Regions from separate parts of the Homo sapiens genome. Here region 2 is linked to region 1. The links are contacts of gene promoters, found by promoter capture Hi-C in blood cells and fetal thymus (Javierre and others, 2016). All regions are on one chromosome and are shown on one strand. Each heading gives the region's core, a stretch centred on a gene start or on the middle of the fragment in contact. The rest is flanking DNA. Distances are from core to core; before and after follow the strand shown. Region 1 holds the start of PPP1R3F (protein phosphatase 1 regulatory subunit 3F). Region 2 overlaps SUV39H1 (SUV39H1 histone lysine methyltransferase).

Region 1 (6,364 bases), core at 1,046-3,545:
AGGAACTCCAAAGGAAACAGCCAGGGCAAAGGTCCTGAGGTGGGAATGTACCTGATTTGTTCAAGGTCTACAAGGGGGCTGGTGTGGTTAGTGTGGAGAGAGCAAGAAGAGAAGCTGGAGGTGAGGTCAGAAAGGGGACTCGGAGGTTAGACCACGCAGGACCTTGTAGGCCATGGTAAGGACTTTGGCTTCAACGCTGAGTGAGGAGGAAGGCATGACAGGGTTGCAAGCAGAGGAGAAACACAAACCGTGTTAGGATTTAACAGGAAGCCCCTGAATGCTGAGTGTACAATGGGGTCTAGGGCCTGAATGTGGAAGCAGGGGACCAGCAAGGAGCTGGCTACTGCAGTAGTCTAGGTGACTGGTGATAGTGCTGGCAGTGGAGGTGGTGAGAAGAGGATGGATTTGGTAAATATTTTTAATAGACAGCCAAAAGGATTTGTTGAAGACTGAGAGTCTTGGAGCCAGATCGGGACAGACAATGCCCAAACCAGGTGGGCAGGAAGGAGTCCCTGGACTATTTGCCAGCTTGAACTTTTAGGTGAGAAAAAAATAAAGTTCTGTCTTGCTTAAGCCCCCATTATTTTATGATTTTTCTGTTACTTGCAGCTGAACATATTCATTTCTAACTCATGGACATCCTGAACATGGAGACCTGGGGAGAGGGGCTGCTGGAAGGATCACCTCCCTCCTAGGATGCTGTGAGGTTCTAATGAGATAACAGCATGCTCAGAACCTGGCACTCAGTAGGTGTTCAGTAAATCTTCCCAGGATGGAGAAGGAATGTATGAATGGATGTGTTCAGCGGACAAAAGCTGCAGTTGAGTTCCCACAGAAGGTGAGACCCCAAAGGGAGAGCGAAAGGAGTTTACTAGATGGAAGCAGCAGAAGGAACAGCACTCTTGGGAGAGGGAACAGTAGAAGCAGAGATGGGGGGACAGAAAGAAGGGAGGTGAGGCCCCTGTGGGGTGTGGAGTGTCAGGTTGGGCAAGAAGGACAGGGCTTTGATTGTGATTCCATTAGTCAGAAGCTACCCATATGCCCAATCAACTTCTGGTAGCACACAGTCAGGTCAGTGTTTGCTGAGCTGAAATTTAAAAAAGTGAATCCTTCAGAAAGTTAAATTTCCTATTCGGCCATTCATTCAACAATAGTATCAAGTCCTGGAGAGTGCTTGCGGCTAACAATCAGGGGCATTCTTGGCTTGTGGCACTGCTCAAGAAAAGGTTGTAGTTGGGCAGGGAGGACCCAGTAAGTAACTAACTGCAACAGGACAGTCATTTTCACTTTCCTAGTTCACACACCAAGGTGTGGTCTAGGCCTTCAGGGGCTCTGGGTATTCCTGGGGCAATGGGGAGTCACGGAGGGTTAGGGAGAGGGTAACCCCATCCCTGAGAAGCACATTTTTCCTAATGGCTGCCTGCGTTCTATGGTTCTGCTGTCCGGCCACCCAATACCTCAGACTCTGTCTACACAGCGTCCTCCTCTCCAGCCTCCTTATTGGCTACTCATGCCTCCCTTCACACCACCTACACTGCCCCCGTCGGCTCTGCTTTTTTCCCCATCTTGCCTCCAAGTCCTCCCTCCGTCCCGCTGCACTATCTAGCCTCGGCATTGGCTCATCCCATACTAGTACTGTCCTTTGAGGTCTCTACGCCTTCACCCTGGCTCCCTCATTGGCTATCCGCCAGCTCTCGTCCTCGCTCCCGCCTTCAGCCTCCACCTCCATTGGCTCGGCTCCCTACACACCCGCCTCTTGGTCTCCTTTTAGCCTTCGTATTGGCTAGCTCCACCTTGGCACCACCCCTTCGAAGCCGCAGTGCACGCTCACAAGCCTCCCCATTGGCTCGCTGCAGCCATTGTCGTCATCCCACGCGTGGCTCTCCATTGGCTGTTCTCTCTCTCTAGCTACCGTTCCACCGCCTACGCAACCCGCGGGATCTCCCACTTTTTGGGCCTCTGCGTTCGTTCCCGGCTGCCCTCATCGCCTGTAGCCATTCCACTTTTCCCACCGCCCACATGCCTCTCTCGCTCAGACTTCCGCATTAGCTGTCTGCTTCTGTTTTCTTCATCATGGATTTCGCACCACCCCCATTCCGGCCTCTCCATTGATTCCTCGATCATCCCGCCCCCTACACCGCCCACTCCCGGGCATCCCCATTGGCTGCGTGCTTCTCCGGCTCTCAATTCGCTGTACGTCATCCGTGCATGGCTGCCCATTGGCCCTCTGCAATACTTGTCTTCATCTCACCGCCTATGCCCCCGTGAGCCGTACCCCTCCGCGCTGGCCTTCCCATTGGCTGCCCGCCCCTTCAGGCCCTGCCCCCGCCGGTCCCGCCGCCGGTGCCGTCGGTGCCGCCGCCGCCGCCGATATGGCGCGTACGGCCCCTGTGGAGCCCCCGCTGCGGCATTCCGCGCCCCCCTCGCCGGCCGCGGGTGAGCCCCGCACCTCGGTCGAGGCGGCGGTGGCCCCGCGGAGGGTGCTGTTCGCCGACGAGGCCTTGGGGCTGCCGCTGGCGCAGTTGCGCCGCTACCGGCCGTGGGGCGGGCCCGGGGCGGGCAAGATGGCGGCGGCGGCCGGGCAAGATGGCGGCGGCGGCGGCGGGGCCGACGAGGACGACGATGGCGAGGATGGGGATGAAGGGGAGGAGGAAGAGGAGGCTTGCCCCGAGCCCTCACCGCTGTGCCCCGTCCCCGCTGGCGGGGGGTTTTACCTGGTCCCCACATTTTCGCTGCCGCCCGCGCCGGGCCGTCTGGAGCGCTTGGGGCGCGTCATGGTGGAGCTGGAGGCGCTGCTGCCGCCTCCCGGAGCGGTCCCCGGGGGTGCCGGGGTGTGGGTGCCTGGGGGCCGCCCGCCGGTGCTGCGCGGGTTGGTACGCGTGCTGAACCGCTCCTTCGAGAAGGCGGTGCACGTGCGGGCCTCACACGACGGCTGGGCTTCCTTTTGCGACCACCCAGCGCGCTACGTCCCGCGCAGCCCGCCGTGGGCAGGAGCGGGAGGAACAGGAGCAGGAGATCCCATCCTGGATCCGGGGCTCGGCCTGGGTCCCGGCCAGGCATCCGCCTCCTCGCCCGACGACGGCGGCCGCACCGACCGCTTTGCCTTCCAGCTGCCCTTTGCTGAGGGCGCGGGCGATGGGGCGCGCCTCGACTTCGTGGTGCGCTATGAGACCCCTGAGGGCACTTTCTGGGCCAACAACCACGGCCGCAACTACACAGTCCTGCTCCGGATCGCACCCGCTCCCACACCCACTGATGCCGAAGGGCTGCCCCAGCAGCAGCAGCTGCCGCAGCTGGAGCCACAGCCCGAGTGCCAGGGTCCCGTGGAGGCTGAGGCCAGGCAGCTGAAGAGCTGCATGAAGCCGGTGAGGCGCAGGTAATGTCAGCCAGCGCCACCTCCGCCAACGCAGGGCTGTGTCTGGGATGGAGGACAAGCATTCCGGCCCAGGAACCCCTCAGGCCTGCTCTCCAGGACAGGGAGGAGGGTGCATTGAGTCAGTCAGTCAAAGAGTGATGGAGGTCAAACACGTGCTAGGCACTGTTTTAACTGGGGTTTTATTCCTCCATTTATTGAGTTCCACTGTAAAGCCCTGAACAAGACAGACATCTACCCTACCCTCAAGGATTCATACAGGCTCCTATGGGAGACAGTTTGAAAAAACAAGCAAGCAAGCAGATAGGATAAATAGGGACAAAGTTAGCTGCTGAAGGGAGTAAGGGGATAGATTGGGAGGGAATGACTGTGTCAGACATGCTGTTAAAGGGAGGGCCTTTGAGGAGGTGAGTCCCGAATGATGATAAAGAAGAGTTATGCAGATACGGTGGGGAGGTGGGGGAGAGTTTGTAGGAAAAGGAACAGGGAGGACTTTTCTGAGGAGGTTTCATTTAAACTAAGTCCTGGATGATGAATAACAGTTATGTGCATATATGGAACAAGGGTGTTCTAGGTAGAGGAAACAGCAAGTGCAAAGGTCCTGGGGTGGAAATGAGCTTGGTGTGAATGATCAGCAGTGTGCTGGAGTGGAGAGAACTGCAATGACATAGTGTGGACCAAGGGCTTTGCCAGTGGGGGGTAGAGCAGATTCTCTTTCTGACAGAGCAGGAAACCAGGATTCCAGAGGTGGAGAAACTGGTTGAGGCAGTGATGGCACCTGGCTCTTCCAGTTCACCCATGCCTGACCTTGAAGCCTGTGCACTCTACTGTTAACGCTGTAATCTACTTTTGAGTCCTGTGGAGGCGAGGGGCTGAGCCCATGCTCTCACAAGAAAGCAGTGGCTCTAGCAGAGAGACAGAACCAGATGGGTACTGGACTTGAAGTTTTTGTCCCTTGTTTTTTTGCCACACCACCTGTGATCATTTAGGGACAGGGAGAAATAATCAGTTATACCCCAGGGGGCCCCAGAAGATTTCCCTAGGTTTCCTCTATCAAGCTATGAGTTCTTTAAGGGCAGCAGCTAGTCCTGATTCTTTTTGCGGTCACCTAAGTCTGGCCCAGGATCACTAGATTCTCCCTAAAATGTATACATTTCCCTGTTCCTGGGAGGACTGGGAATGGAAATGGGAAAATGCTTTTTGGACCTTGTATGTATACGCTTGGTCAGAAGCCCCTGGCTGCAGTAAGACATTTGTGGGTTCTGCTGGTTCTGGTAAGGCCTTAGGCTGTGAGTGGTTCAGAAAGGTCTAGCTCCGGTCTGGTGGGCAGATGTGCCTGGGTAACTGAGCAGGCAGGCAGGTACCCACTCACCCACCTGTGAGCCCCACCATAATCTGAGACTTCATTTAAAGGGGGCAGGCAGCATGGTTTTTCTTACAGCATTAAGAGTGTGGATTCTGGCATAGATTGCCTGGGTTCAAATCCTGGCGCTGCCACTTACTGGCCTTGTGACCTTGGCCAACGCATTTAACTACACCATGCCTCAGGACCCTCACCTGTAAAACAGAATTATAGCATCTACTTTACGGGATAAGAGTAAAGGTGCTCAGAACCGAGTCTGGCTCAAAGTAGTATCATACAGGTGTTAGCTAGTGTCAGTATTTAGGGAGCCACACCTACAGTTTCCTGGATTCCTCTCCTAAATTCGGCTCCGCCCATCAGCTGTGTGGCCTTGCCTCCGTTTCCTTCTCTGCTAAGGGAAATGACAGTCACTTTGCATGGTTGGATTGAATGCAGCAAACATGGGCAAGGTAACTGAAGCATGGTGGTAACTGCAAAAGATAACTGGCCAGCATTTACTGATTTCTGTGCTATGAACATCAGATCCATTCTCTCCGTGAGGCCTGCTGTGCATGCTGTGTTGTGTAGGTGCTATGATTATCCCCATTTAGTAGAGGGGAGACAGGTAGCTCAGAGAGATGAGCCAGCTTGCTCAAAGCCTCTCAGCTAGTGAGTGACAGGGCCAGGGAAGAAATGCTAGGGACATTTATTTTTTTCTATTTTTTTTTTTTAAACTGGTCCTCTAGAAAGCGTGGCATGATTCAGGGCAAATTCTGGATTTCACTCTTGGTGTTCCCAGCATGTCGTGCTTTCCTTTTACCTTTTTTTTTTTTTTTGCTTTATCGAGGTATACCTACATAAAGTGTACTGATATTCTGTGTATAGCCCAGTGGATTTGTACATATGTATGCACTTGTGTAGCCACCACCCAGATGAAGATACTGAGCAGGTCCAGTACCCCAGAGCTACCTTCATTTCTATCACTTTCCCAAGCTGTCATCCCCGCCGGCTGTCATGGGAACCCTGTCTGTAAGATGCGACAGTTTGGGTAAAGGAGTTTGGTCATTTTAAAGAGTGTGAAAGGCAGAGAACAGAGAAATCAAAACCTTGCAGGGCCAAGGTGGGTGGAGAGGGTGTTTTTCTTTTAACATACATGGGCGGTTTTAAGGAGAAATTGAAGCAGCCTGTTCAGACAATTGTTTTGGTATCTGGCCCCAGGTCTGTGGTTCCTAACATGACTTGTGATATTATTTTAAGTGGGCAGATGGCTTTTTGATAGCTTCTTTATCTTTCGATCTCAGCTCTTGCAAAGGGGAGGTTGGTGCTCATTGCAAGATCAGCGATAAGGGTTTCTTTGTAGGTCGGTGGCTTTCTTGGTGAGTACATTTCAACATATTATTGTTTTAGAACCTGTGTGCTGCCAGTGACTTGCAGCACTGTTGAAGACTAGCCACCCTTTGTGACCTAGCCCTCTTGGGAAATGGCGGAGGATCTCAGGGTATATCCCTTACCTGTGGGAGCCCTATCAGAGGGCTTCCTGTTGAGGAAATGTTGGCTGTAGGCCCTCTGTGCACTGAGCACAGCCACATCAGGTGAGGGCATGGGAGAAGTCCGTGGTAGCCATCAGGATAGAGTTCAGAAACCCAAAT
Region 2 (6,364 bases), core at 1,022-3,521, 560 kb before region 1:
CAGTGTCTTTAATCCTCCCAGGGATCCTCTCAGCCCTGTCCTCACCCTTCCTGCTCTCCACACATTCTTGCTGCACTATTTCCTGACCGCCCTCCAGCACCCTCAGACCCATGGGTCCTCCTGATGGTGCCACAGGCCTCCGGAAAGAGCCAAACTCATCTTCCCGCATTCCCCTCTGAAGAGACAGTATAGCAAATGGTTAGGAGGGTGGACTCTGGATCCTGACTGCCCGAGGCTGAATCCCAGCTCCACTACTCATCAGCAATCACTAACCTCTGTGCCTGCATTTACTATGTAAAATGGGAACAATAATAGCACTCACCTCACAGGCTTGTTACAAAAATTAAATGAGTTACTATGTATCAAGCACTTGGAAAAAGCACTTGAACAGTGTTCAGTACACAGTAAGTTTGATACAAATGTTATCAGCATAGTTCAAACTTCAGCAAATCCAAAATGTCTGGAAGACCAAGTTTTTTTGTAACCCATCTGGCTACAGGACCCAGCCTGACCGGATAGGGTCCTATTTGTAGTTTTTATTTATCCTACTTGGGGTAATAGTCATACATTTCGTTGCAGCAGTTCTAATTTACTTGATTCTGTAGTGCCGTCCCAGATGCTGCCAGGGTGTTACGGAATCAAGGGCCTATCTGCACACCATGCTATCTACTGTCCTTCTTCAGCTGGGACATGTACTGACAGTCTGTACCAAGAGCTCCCTCCACGGGAGCTGCCCTTCCCTCCTTTGCAGCCTCCCACATTGGGTCAGAACTTTCACGTTCCTGCAGAACATTCCCATCCTCACCCAAGAGACAATGCCAGCCTATTTTATCCATTCTAAAACATGCATTTTCTTCCTATTTTAACATCTCGGAAATGAAGATGTCTTAATTAAATCATGGTGTATCATTTATAATTAACAGCAGTTTTTCCTTTCTTGGTAAAGGGCACATAAAATTAAGGGTGTGCCTTACATTTATAACTGGTCCTCATAACCACTCCTAACATTGCTCACTCTCCTATCAGAAACAGGAACACCTTTCACGTCCATGATCTTGTATGGATCTTTACAACAGCCCCTGTCAGGTTGGGATTTTGTCACTGTCATTCCCATTCTGCAGATGAGAAAACTGAGGCCCAGAGAGGTAGAATAACTTGATTAAAATCACAAAAGTAGTACAATGGATAAAAAAATAAAGGCCCAAATAATATCTAAAACTGGTACCCTGCCAGGCTGTAGCTTTTTTTTTTTTTTTTTAGCTGAGGAAACAGGCACAGAGAGAACATTCAGGATCCCATATCCAGGAGGGGGCAGAGCAGCAGCTGACTCCAAGTCTTCTAGTTCCCATTCACGTCAGCACCCTCTCGGAACTGCCAGCTTACAGCCTGTCTTTTCCATTCATTCTGGAGAGCTGTTAGGGAGCAGAGACAGGCCCATCTGTTCCCAAGCTTTCAGGGTTGACCAATCATTAGAGAATGGGACTGAAAAGAAGATGAGAAGGAACCAAGAAGTGTTTGTGCCCTGGAGGGCCTGCAGTATGACTCACTCCTGGTGAGACTGGGAGAGCAGGTAGTGGCAGAATAGGCATGAAGATGGAGACTAGGAAGGATGTGGGCACTCCTCCTGGCTCAAGGAGGGCCTACGGTGAAAAAGATGGCTCATACCCCACCCACTAGGCCTGTGAGCCTGGGAGAGGCTGCCCTTTGATCCCAGGACTTGATCAGACAAGTGGCCAGCTTCTGAGGTAGGGGAGGAACGGGAAGCTTGGAAGGCTGCCTAGAGAGGTCCCATCTGTTTGAGCTGATGCCACAAGGAAGACTGTTCTCCAGGAGGTGAAGGGAGACTGATCTTGACATATTCCACCCTCATGTTGTGGCCCTTAGGAGAGAGTCCCCACTCTTCCACCAGGTGGTAAAGCCCTTTTATGATCTGCAACTCGTTTTAGAGAATCCGTCTCTTCTCCATTCCCCCTCAAGCCCTAAGCACTGTTTCCTGATCACAGTCTTACACTGTGGGTGTGTGAATCTGTCTCTCTGTGACCAGACTTTGACCCCTTGAGGGCAGGGACCAATCCTGGTTCCTGTGTATCCCCTACCCACCTGTGACCCCTGAGAGTGGACCGGGCCTGGTCCCTGTGTCTCCCTGATCAGACCGTGAGCCCTGCATGCTGGGACTGGGCACAAGGAAGGCCTCAATAAAAACCCTGGCAAGGGAGCCAGGTTCCTCAAGGAACAGAACTGGAGCACGGGGCAGTGGGTAGTGTGGCCCGAGGCAGGGTAAATCTTGGTTTCCTCAAGGCATTGTTAGTCAGCCTTTGGCATGGAACACAGCCTTGAGGGGACAGCCAGGGAGAACACCAGTGTGGCCATCCTAGCTAAGGAGATGGATTCCCAAGTCAGAAGGGCATGGTCACCGGCCCACATGAGGGTGAGCAAGGAAGGAAGCCCGAGAGGGGTCTCTGGAGAAGGGAGGGGAAGGAAGAAGTGTGGCGGGGGAGTACTGGAGCTACCTGGAGGGCCGCCACTTGGACAGAGGACAGGCTGCTAAGCCAGGAAGCAGAATCAAAGTAAACAGCAGTCCCCATGTGTCTCCTGTGTGCTGTGCACTGTTCTTGGCTGAGGTACAGTGGGACCCCTACCCAGGGAAGGGCCTGGTCAGCTACGCTTGGGGATTGGCAGGAGGCTGCCGTTGCTGGCCTCAGGGAAGAGGGGCCATGGGGCCGGAGATTTGTTGGCGTGGATTGGGAGGCAAGGACAGGCTGGGGCTAGGATGGCAGCAAAGCTTCCCATTTCCTAGGACAGGTAGGGAACCAGCTGGGGAGGAGGCACCCACTGCCGTCTGAAGCACCAGTTGGCACTGCGCAGCCCTGGGCCGAGGGAGAGCTTCTCTCACTGTGCTCTCCCTTCATCTTTCCTCCTCCTCTGCTGCTGTCTCTGAAGTGTGTGGCCTCAGCCTCTTTCTGGCTCTCTGAACCTGGGCCTCCCTCTGCCTCTGCCTCCACCTCTCTTGTCTTGAGGCCCTTGCCCCCTTTCCCCATGGCCTGGGTCTCTTCTTCCCCTCTCTCCACGCCCTCCCTGCTGGGTCCTGCATGGGCTCAGGCTCCCTTGCCTGGATCAGTAAGTATCTCTCCCTGTGGCACCCTGGGTCACTTTCTTTCTTGCCCTTGCTTTGGTCTCTCCTGATCACCTTCCTGCTCCGTCCCAAGGCACTGGAGGCTCCAGGGGTTCTTGGGCAGCTCTTGCTGGGTGGCGGCAGGAGGTGCTCGCGTGGCCCCAGTTGGGCCCTGCAGCCAGGCCAGCCTGCACTCACCGCCAGGGACTCCTCCTGCTAGCCAGAGGCCTGAGGCGGGCCAGGCAGTTGCCAGCTGAGGCCCAGCTCCTCAGGAAGGGCCGACAGACTCTCTGCGTCACTGCCCATGTGTGTCCACGGGCAGGGGTGCCTCCTGCTCCCTGTCCTTCAGAAGTCAGGAGCAGTGCCGGCTTTCCTGAGACTTCGCGGCCAATCTCCCCTTACCCATGGCCCTTTCCCTAGATCATTACCTCAGAGGAGGCAGAGCGGCGGGGCCAGATCTACGACCGTCAGGGCGCCACCTACCTCTTTGACCTGGACTACGTGGAGGACGTGTACACCGTGGATGCCGCCTACTATGGCAACATCTCCCACTTTGTCAACCACAGTGTGGGTACCCCCGGCAGGCGGGCAAGGGGTCGAGAGGGGCAGGCTGGAGCCCCTCCTCACTCTCCCAACTGTTCTTTCTCGCCCAGTGTGACCCCAACCTGCAGGTGTACAACGTCTTCATAGACAACCTTGACGAGCGGCTGCCCCGCATCGCTTTCTTTGCCACAAGAACCATCCGGGCAGGCGAGGAGCTCACCTTTGATTACAACATGCAAGGTGGGGGTGGCAAGGGACTGGGGGCAGGGGCGCACTGTGACTTGGGACACAAGGACCCCTCCCAAAGGCACACCAGTCACTCAGAGAACCAAGGAAAATTCTTTAGCGGGAGCTTTAAGATGCTCTTCCTGACTCCCAGTCCCCCATTCGGACTACTAGACCCCTGCCTACCCCTCGAGTCCCCTCATTCCCAGCCCCTGAACCCTAACCCTGAGGCATTCATACCAACTTCTCCCAAGATTCCTGGAGAGTTAAGAAACTCCTGACTCCAGTCTTGACTGAGTTTCCCTCATCCCCCAGCCCCTCCCCACTCCTAGCTCCCTTTGGCCTTCTTCATCCCAAGCCTCTGGACACCCTTGTGGCCTCCAGCCAGTCCCCTCCTTGATAAGCTAGCCACCTCTGAGACCCTCAAGGGCAGGTCTTTGGCAGGAGAGTTCAGATGTACCTCTGGATGCCCAGGTGGCCCTCTATTCCTGCCCCTGCCCCCCCCCACACACCTAAAACGACCCTCCTGGTTCCTTGACGGCTCCCTGCCTCCCCCAGCATTCTTCAACCCCTGGCCTGAACAACCTCCAGTGCTGAGCCCTGGCCCTAGCCCCAAACCACCAACCCTAAGATCTCCCAACTCAAATCCCAGAGTTGCTCCCAGCCCCAAAGATCCTTGGTCTCATGGTATAAAGGGTAGTGGGACCCTTCATCCAGGCCTTCTAACAAGTCCCCTGCCTCCTTCCCTACCTTCCTCCCTCCCTCCTTCTCCCCCTCCCTCCCTGCCTCCTTCCCTCCTCTCCTCCCTGGCTGTGACTCCACAGTGGACCCCGTGGACATGGAGAGCACCCGCATGGACTCCAACTTTGGCCTGGCTGGGCTCCCTGGCTCCCCTAAGAAGCGGGTCCGTATTGAATGCAAGTGTGGGACTGAGTCCTGCCGCAAATACCTCTTCTAGCCCTTAGAAGTCTGAGGCCAGACTGACTGAGGGGGCCTGAAGCTACATGCACCTCCCCCACTGCTGCCCTCCTGTCGAGAATGACTGCCAGGGCCTCGCCTGCCTCCACCTGCCCCCACCTGCTCCTACCTGCTCTACGTTCAGGGCTGTGGCCGTGGTGAGGACCGACTCCAGGAGTCCCCTTTCCCTGTCCCAGCCCCATCTGTGGGTTGCACTTACAAACCCCCACCCACCTTCAGAAATAGTTTTTCAACATCAAGACTCTCTGTCGTTGGGATTCATGGCCTATTAAGGAGGTCCAAGGGGTGAGTCCCAACCCAGCCCCAGAATATATTTGTTTTTGCACCTGCTTCTGCCTGGAGATTGAGGGGTCTGCTGCAGGCCTCCTCCCTGCTGCCCCAAAGGTATGGGGAAGCAACCCCAGAGCAGGCAGACATCAGAGGCCAGAGTGCCTAGCCCGACATGAAGCTGGTTCCCCAACCACAGAAACTTTGTACTAGTGAAAGAAAGGGGGTCCCTGGGCTACGGGCTGAGGCTGGTTTCTGCTCGTGCTTACAGTGCTGGGTAGTGTTGGCCCTAAGAGCTGTAGGGTCTCTTCTTCAGGGCTGCATATCTGAGAAGTGGATGCCCACATGCCACTGGAAGGGAAGTGGGTGTCCATGGGCCACTGAGCAGTGAGAGGAAGGCAGTGCAGAGCTGGCCAGCCCTGGAGGTAGGCTGGGACCAAGCTCTGCCTTCACAGTGCAGTGAAGGTACCTAGGGCTCTTGGGAGCTCTGCGGTTGCTAGGGGCCCTGACCTGGGGTGTCATGACCGCTGACACCACTCAGAGCTGGAACCAAGATCTAGATAGTCCGTAGATAGCACTTAGGACAAGAATGTGCATTGATGGGGTGGTGATGAGGTGCCAGGCACTGGGTAGAGCACCTGGTCCACGTGGATTGTCTCAGGGAAGCCTTGAAAACCACGGAGGTGGATGCCAGGAAAGGGCCCATGTGGCAGAAGGCAAAGTACAGGCCAAGAATTGGGGGTGGGGGAGATGGCTTCCCCACTATGGGATGACGAGGCGAGAGGGAAGCCCTTGCTGCCTGCCATTCCCAGACCCCAGCCCTTTGTGCTCACCCTGGTTCCACTGGTCTCAAAAGTCACCTGCCTACAAATGTACAAAAGGCGAAGGTTCTGATGGCTGCCTTGCTCCTTGCTCCCCCACCCCCTGTGAGGACTTCTCTAGGAAGTCCTTCCTGACTACCTGTGCCCAGAGTGCCCCTACATGAGACTGTATGCCCTGCTATCAGATGCCAGATCTATGTGTCTGTCTGTGTGTCCATCCCGCCGGCCCCCCAGACTAACCTCCAGGCATGGACTGAATCTGGTTCTCCTCTTGTACACCCCTCAACCCTATGCAGCCTGGAGTGGGCATCAATAAAATGAACTGTCGACTGAACAAACCAAGATGTGAGGTGCTTGTGTGGGTGGGGGTTGAGGGGATAGAGGCTGGGAGCTGGGTTTGCCCAGGAACATGTTCCTC

Evidence for each region. The method cuts DNA at HindIII sites, captures the fragments that hold promoters and counts their contacts. A CHiCAGO score of 5 or more calls a contact.
Region 2: a contact is called between a fragment that was not itself captured here and the fragment with the promoter of PPP1R3F in region 1, in 1 of 17 cell types (neutrophils). The highest score is 5.1, in neutrophils.

The regions. Positions count from the first base shown.
Region 1 is chrX:49,267,498-49,273,861 of GRCh38, forward strand. It overlaps PPP1R3F (protein phosphatase 1 regulatory subunit 3F), which reads left to right and starts at 2,296. Exons shown (of 4, transcript NM_033215.5): 1 at 2,296-3,376. The coding sequence starts at 2,373. RefSeq lists enhancers at 1,385-1,884, 1,582-1,631 and a silencer at 2,332-2,571. The HindIII fragment of the contact is 7,823 bases long and covers 1-6,364 here.
Region 2 is chrX:48,702,733-48,709,096 of GRCh38, forward strand. SUV39H1 (SUV39H1 histone lysine methyltransferase) reads left to right here. Exons shown (of 6, transcript NM_003173.4): 4 at 3,533-3,679; 5 at 3,766-3,895; 6 at 4,705-6,284. The coding sequence ends at 4,838. Among named protein-coding and RNA genes, the nearest start is that of SUV39H1, 9.2 kb to the left of the region's middle. The HindIII fragment of the contact is 1,018 bases long and covers 1,763-2,780 here.